Regions from separate parts of the Homo sapiens genome. Here region 1 is linked to region 2. Evidence: promoter capture Hi-C in 16 types of primary human blood cells and fetal thymus (Javierre and others, 2016). All regions are on one chromosome and are shown on one strand. The core of a region is centred on a gene start or on the middle of the fragment in contact, and the rest is flanking DNA. Distances in the headings are between cores, read along the strand shown.

Region 1 (3,834 bases), core at 718-3,217, 450 kb after region 2:
ATTTCTACTAAAAATATAAAAATTAGCCAGGTGTGGTGGCCCACACCTGTAAGCCCAGCTACCAGGGAGGCTGAGGCAGGAGAATTGCTTGAACCCTCCAGGCGGAGGTTTCAGTGAACCAAGATCACACCACTGCACTCCAGCCTGGGCAACAGAGTAAGACTTTGTCTCAAAAAAGAAAAAAAAAAGTTAATTATTCTGCAGAACTTGGAGGTGATCCCAATGGTACCTCTGAGAAGCCACCCTGTCATTCTAAAAAGGATGAATACGATTAAGAAACATGTTCACCAGCCTGGGCAACATGGTGAAACTTTGTCTCTACTGATACAAAAATTAGCCGGGAGTGGTGGTGTGCACCTGTAATCCCACGAAACTGAGGCATGAGAATCACTTGAACCTGGGAGACAGAGGTTGCAGTGAGCTGAGATCGCACCACTGTACTCCAGCCTGGGCAGCAGAGTGAGACTCTGTCTCAAAAAAAAAAAAAAAGAGAGAGAGAGAGAAAGAAAGAAATATATTCAGAGGAATCCTATGAAGAAATAGAAAGTAAAACATCTAGTATTTCATCATTAATAGGTAATCATAGAGAAGAATAAAAAGAAGAATAAGGAAGGATATGAGGAGAATTGTTACTAAAGGAAATCTATGTTGTATTTTACTAATTGTTCATTTTGGGGCTTTTTTATTTTTATTTTTTTGTAGAGACGAGGTCTCACTATGTCACCCAAGATGGTCTCAAACTTCTGGCCTCAAGTGATCCTCCTACCTCGGCCTCCCAAAATGCTGGGATTATAGGTGTGAGCCACTGCACCTGGCCTCCTGTTCATTTGGATTTTCACTTCTCTGTTTTATTCTTCGTGCCTTCATCTTACTTTAATATTTTCTAAAATTCTATTTTGAGTTAATACTATGTTTTTTAGTGCATCTCTTTGTATAACATGTTAGCGGTTGCTCTGTCCACAACTTATCAAAGTCTATTCATTTTTTTCCGTCTAATTTCTCTCTGTTGTTTAGGTTGGATAATTTTTATTATTCTATCTTCTAGTTCACTTGTTATTTTTTCTGCCTCCTCCATTATGCTGCTGAACCCACCCACCCCATCCACTGAGGTTTTTATTTCAGTTATTATATTTTTCAGTTCTAAAATTTCCATTTAGTTCTTCTTTTATCATCTATTTCTTTGCTTATGCATTCTATTTTTCATTTATTCCAAGAATGTTTATAATTGCTTATTGAAGCATTTTTACAATGGCTAATTTAAAATTTCTGTCAGATAATTCTAATATCTCTGTCATCACAATGTTGGCATCTGTTGATTGTCATTTTTTCATTCTGTTTGAGATCTTCTGGTATGATAAGTAACTTTTCATTAAAACCTGGATATGTTCATATTATATTCCGCTACTCTGGATCCTATTTAAACCTTCTGTTTTAGTGGGATTTCTCTGATACCATTTAGGCAGAAGGGGGAACAGAGAAAGAAGGAGATGTCACCTAATTACTGCCAGGTGCAGGCAGAAGTCCAGGTTCCCCACAGAGCCTCCATTGCCACCTGAAGAAGGGAGCTCATTGTTACTGCTGGGTAAGCATGGAAGTTCTGGCTCCCCTGACACCACAGTGAGGATGGCCACATTACCACTGGGTAGAGGTCTAAGTCCAGTCTTCTCATATAATCCCCCCTGCTGGGAAGGGAAGTATTAACAAAAGATCATGAGATTTGAGGAAGAAGAAAAAAGAGAGTTTTATTTCCTATAAATGGTTACAATCTGCAGGTTGGGAAATGAAACATCCAGCCAAAATGAAAAGCATCTGCTTCAGAGACAAAAGGGAGAAGCTGGGACTTATGCCCAACAAGATGAGCTATATGTACATATTCAGTAGCTTATAGGAGAATCTATGAATATTTGAGAAAACCCTAATGCATGCAAAGAGAATAAACATATATGTTACATATGTTCCATGTTCATTTTGGGGTGGGGATTTAATAGTAAAGTGAAGTGGCACGTGGCTGTTTATATATAACAAGGTGAAACAGAACACAAAGGCATCTTGTGCACAGCCTCTGTGGACTAGGTGCAATCAGTCTGTGGTCGGTGGTCAGTATAACAATGGAATGTTTAATAAGGCTGGTCAGTAGTCATGGTGAAACCACGATAAAAGAGGGGAGGTCAGCCATGACATCAAGAGGTCTCTTGAGGTTGAGGGAGAAATCTTCCAGACAGTTTTTTAGGAACTCGTTTCTGTTTAATTGTAGGAAGGAAAGTTTTGAGGCAGTTAACAAGGTAGGGGAGTGTTGAGGTGTGACTGACCTCTTGCCTTGCCAAAGCCATAGAATGCAGTTTTCAAAGTTTCTGGGGTCTCTTTTGCAACAAGAAGTCCATTCTGTTTCACCTAGGGGCTTAGGGACTTTAGTTTTATTTCACACTTTCCAGCTTTAGGCTGAAATCTGCCATAGGCAGCATTGATGGCTAAATTTTCTAACATGTCCCATGTCGTTCCCAGGATGGTGTGGATACCTGCCCCAGGTCTATCTAGTCTGTCAGTGGGACTCATGTGGCTAGGAGACTTACAACCAGTTGAATATTTTAGGCCAGGCAAGAAGGAGGCAGACAGCTATTAAGACCCTTTGAACCTTTGAGACTAGAAAAACAGTAACAACAGAAAAGTTGAGAAGGTAAGTTTATGTTTATGTTGTCTGTCATTTCTATGCATTGTGCTACCATAACTTTGGTTTTAGTGACAGACTTGAAGTAGTTGGTTATAGATCTTATAAGTACTTTGACTATCAAAAATAGGAACAAGATAGTGATATGATAATGACAAGGGTTTGTAAGATGGATTGGAAGTAATTTCTAATACTGCAATGAGTCAGCTAAAAACGTTATTAAGGGGATCTGTGGTTTGTACCTCCTGTAACCAGGCAGCCTGTTGGGTGATCTTACCTACATGGGTTGTTAAATCTCCTATAATGTTGATATAAGTGCAACAAGTGGTGTGGGCTATCATGCAAATTCCCCCTTGTTTAGCAATGAGAAAACCTGGTGCAATTTGATTGTCTAAAACCACTTGAGCGAGAGAATTTAAGGACTTCTACTGTGTCATAATACTTATTGCAGCATTTTCAGCAATTTGTCCTATGGTGGCCGGCATTTTTTTTTATCGTATCTCTGTTAGTGTATACTCCGTAGCTGAGAAAAATTACACCCCAAAAACTATGCTACCACATATCCTGATATCCACTTGGTAGCTCTCTTTTAGCTTACCGGAAAGCAAGATTTTCTTTATGATTGAGATGGATGGAAAAGAGGGCAACGTAATGACCTAGAAGGCAAAGTCCTTCAACTTGCCAGCTGTTTATGCATCTGTGTGCCTCTTCTTGAACTGGGGGATCTGACTCAATTCTATATAGGAAAGTGTGTCCTCAAGGGGCACAAGTTATACCTCCAAGGGTATGCCAATTTATACGTTCATTTATGAACAAGATATCTATTATGTGAGTGAACCACGAACTGGTTTTGTTGCAAGCCTTCTAGAAGCCTGCAGAGGCATGATATCTAACAAAGAGGAGCTGTTGTCAGTGTTTGATATTTTTTCTTTGGGCATTCAGTGGTTATGTACAGTAGCAAGGGTGGGAGTCCCAGAATCTAAGGAGAAAGCTACATAGACATAAAAATCTTAATCTTTTTAAAACTCAGTTTTCTGGTTTGGTGCAGTGGCTCATACCTGTAATTCCAGCACTTTGGGAGGCTGAGGTGGGAGAATTGCTTGAGCCCAAGAGTTTGAGACCAGCCTGGGCAATATACTGAGACCTAATCTCTACAAAAACCTTTTCAA
Region 2 (3,398 bases), core at 340-2,839:
GCTGCCGATGTGCAGGGCGGGGCTGTTGTTCTCGCGGACGAACAGGGTGTAGGAGGTTTGGGTGAAAGTGGGGGCGTTATCATTGACATCTGATATCTGCACTGTTATGTTGTGCTCCGTTTTCAGCCTTGGAGTCCCCATATCTGTGACGGTGAGGGTGATATTATATTCAGCTCTTGCTTCTCTGTCGAGTGCTCTCTCCGTTACCAAGGTGTAAAAGTTCTTGACTGAAGGTTTTAGAAGAAAGGGAAGGTCTTCCTGGATGGAGGAAATCGTCTTCCCATTGTTTCCGGAGTCAGGATCTGAAACGCTGAAAACAGCAACTACTATCTCAGGCGAGTTCTCTGGGATGGGGCTGGTGAGTGCAGACATGGTCACCTGTGGGGGATTGTCATTCACGTCCACCACCTGCAGGAGAAGAGTGCACTTTCCTGAAAGACCTCCCCCATCTGTGGCTTTGATGCGCACTTCATAAGACGTAACCATTTCGAAATCTACTTGCTTTCTCAGTCGAACTTCCCCTGTCATAGGATTTACCTCCAAAGTTTTACTAATATCCTCCGAAGGCTGAAAGAGTGTGTATGATATTTTTCCATTGGCTCCGCCGTCTAAATCCCTGGCGGAGACGGTGGCAACCAGGGAGCCAAGAGGACTGTTCTCTGGAATCTGCACTTTGTAGATGGGCTGCTCAAACTCAGGAGCGTTATCATTGATGTCCACCACTTCAATACGGACCTGAGCAGTTCCAGATCGCGGTGGAGAGCCACCATCCAGCGCTGTCAGGGTTAATCTTAGTTGAGGCTCCTCCTCCCGATCCAGCTCTTTATCCAACACTAGCTCAGGGTATTTCCTGCCATCTCTGAATTCATGGATTAGAACCCGGAAATGAGAGCTTGGGCTGATTTTATAGTTTTGAACATTATTGCTTCCTACGTCCAAGTCCAAAGCATGATTCAGAGGGAACTCAGTTCCTAGAGGACTGTTTTCCGGTATTTTTAGAATCATTTCCTTTTCAGTGAACATGGGAGAATGGTCATTTATATCTATCACCCTCAGTTCAGCCTGAAATATTTCTAAAGGGTTTTCCATTAACACTTGGAAATGTAGTATGCAAGGCTCAGTGGGACCGCATAGCTCCTCTCGATCTAGCTTCTCATTTATGAGCAAATCCCCAGTTTGAGCCTTGAGCTGCAAATGCTGTTTGTTCCCCTGGGAAATGATCCTGGCCTTGCGGGTGGACATCTCTGTCAACCCCAACCCCAGGTCTTTTCCTAGATTTGCCACAAAAGAGCCTCTCTCCGTTTCTTCCACTACGGAATAGGACCCCAACTCGGCGCCCGCCCCAGACAAGCTCAGCAAAACAAAGAAAACAAGGACTTGCCTTTGTCTCCGATTGTGCATCCATCCAATCTCCATTGCTTTTTCTTGAAAAGTTGGTTCACAGAAGCTTCATGTATCCCCAGGATCCTAGTAGAACTGTTTTGCAGTCCAGAATGTCAGAACCAAGCAGCCCAACGGTGTCTTAAAGAGGTTTCACACTCACGTTCGCTCTGGCTCAGCTATTCTTCTGCTTCCAGGCTTTGGGAAACGGTTTGCTGGATCCTGGAGCTGCGTAGGCAGTTGTATTTTCCGTCATCTTAACCTGCAGCGCCACCACGCGTTCTCACTGAGTCTTTTACTGTGGTTGAATATTGGAGGCAAAATACTTCTAAATGTACTGAATAGACTATGTAATACAAAACACTGAGTTCTATTTTCATGTGACTTTCGTGTATACAGATGGAGCTCTGTGATGTTGTACAGGGAGGAGTACAAAGAGAAGACTGTCATTTATGTTATTGACTGTTTAATGCTGTTGAGATTAATGATTAAATAAAATTCAATGAACATTTAACCAGACATAGAATACACACTTAGAAGCAAAATTTTTCTGAAGTAACATGAGAACAGTTTCACAAGTACATCTTTTTCATGGTACCTATATAGACACTATGAGTAGACACTGCAAAATTGCAATCAGTGGTAGTTCTAAAGAGTATTTAACAATTGCTTTATTAAAGAATAAATTACTTCCTTTTCTTTCTGACACCTAACCCTGAGAAGTGTGAGTTTTTACAACTTTCAAGTTATTGGAAAATTCATTCCCAAACAAGCAAATCTCAAGGTTGGGTCTGCTACACTTTTGGATTCCCCCCACCCTTTTTTCATTTCAATGGCTTTTAATATATTCAGAGGTGTGCATCCGCCATCACAATTTTAGAACATTTTCATCTCAAGAGAAACCTTACCTCTTTTAATTATCACCGTACCCGTTCTCCCATCCCACTTATAAACATATGTGTGTGTGTGTGTGTGTGTGTGTGTGTGTGTGTGTGTGTGTAGGTTAACTGAAAAAGACTGAAGAAAGAGAATAAGAAATTCAAGAAATGAAACTATAGGTTAACTCTACTTCCTACTTAGACTCATTTCTTTAATAATGGATATGGCACGTAGAGAAAGTACAGGACTATAAATCAGGTTAATTCGCTCATCATAAAGTTCATTTGTAGTATCTGTCCCAGCATACTTAGAGCTTTGATAAGAACATGGGTATATTTGTGCAGAGTAGTATAAACAAACTATAAACTAAAACTTATATTTTCACATGAGAGTTTAGTTCATGGAGTAGGAGTAGGAATAACATAAATTTCACTTCCTTAGTTAGAAAAACAATGCTATCAGTTAATGCCTGACCATATAGCATATTGGCTAGACTTAGATTATATTTTAAATTTTTACCTTTATTATTTCAGAATTATAAGAAAGTTAATCGTTTTTTGTGGGGGGGAATGAGGTCTCACTCTGTCACCCAGCCTGGAGTGCAATGGCACAATCTTGGCTCACTGTAGTCTCTGTCTCCTGGGCTCAGGGGATCCTCTTACCTCAGCCTCCTGAGTAGCTGGGACTACAGGTTCGCAATCACACCTGGCTAATTTTTGTATTTTTGTTAGTGTCAGTGTTTTGCCCCATTGCCCAGGCTGGTCTCGAACTACTGAGCTCAAAGGGTTCAGCTTGCCTCAGCCTCTCAAAGTGTTATGATTACAGGTGTGAGCCACAGCTCACAGCCAAGTTACCTTTCTAAGCCTCAGTTTTCTCATATTTAAAAAAGGGGATAATATGTCAACTCCCTTAGGACTTGGGGAAACATTTAAAAGGCAATAAATGTAAAACATTCTCTACACCACTTTTAACTAAATTTTACCTAGATTAGAAATCAAAAAATAAAGGCTTAAAAAGATCAGTTACATTAATTTCTTCACTTCAGATCTGTGCATTTTACTATGTACATTTTAACAAAAATTGCACTGTTAAAGAATTATGATTAGAGTCCACTGGATATACTAATGAAGAGAAGATGA

Evidence for each region. Contacts are between HindIII fragments. The CHiCAGO score rates a contact against its expected background, and 5 or more counts as called.
Region 1: a fragment that was not itself captured here is called in contact with the fragment with the promoter of PCDHB16 in region 2 in 1 of 17 cell types (M1 macrophages); the score reaches 5.2 in M1 macrophages.

What each region holds. Positions count from the first base shown.
Region 1 is chr5:140,735,086-140,738,919 of GRCh38, reverse strand. All of the region lies in intron 3 of LOC105378198 (a long non-coding RNA gene), which reads right to left. Among named protein-coding and RNA genes, the nearest start is that of ZMAT2, 37 kb to the right of the region's middle. The HindIII fragment of the contact is 5,793 bases long and covers 1-3,834 here.
Region 2 is chr5:141,180,578-141,183,975 of GRCh38, reverse strand. PCDHB16 (protocadherin beta 16) reads right to left here and starts at 1,589. Exons shown (of 1, transcript NM_020957.4): 1 at 1-1,589. The coding sequence starts at 1,416. It also overlaps PCDHB@. The HindIII fragment of the contact is 3,641 bases long and covers 1,450-3,398 here.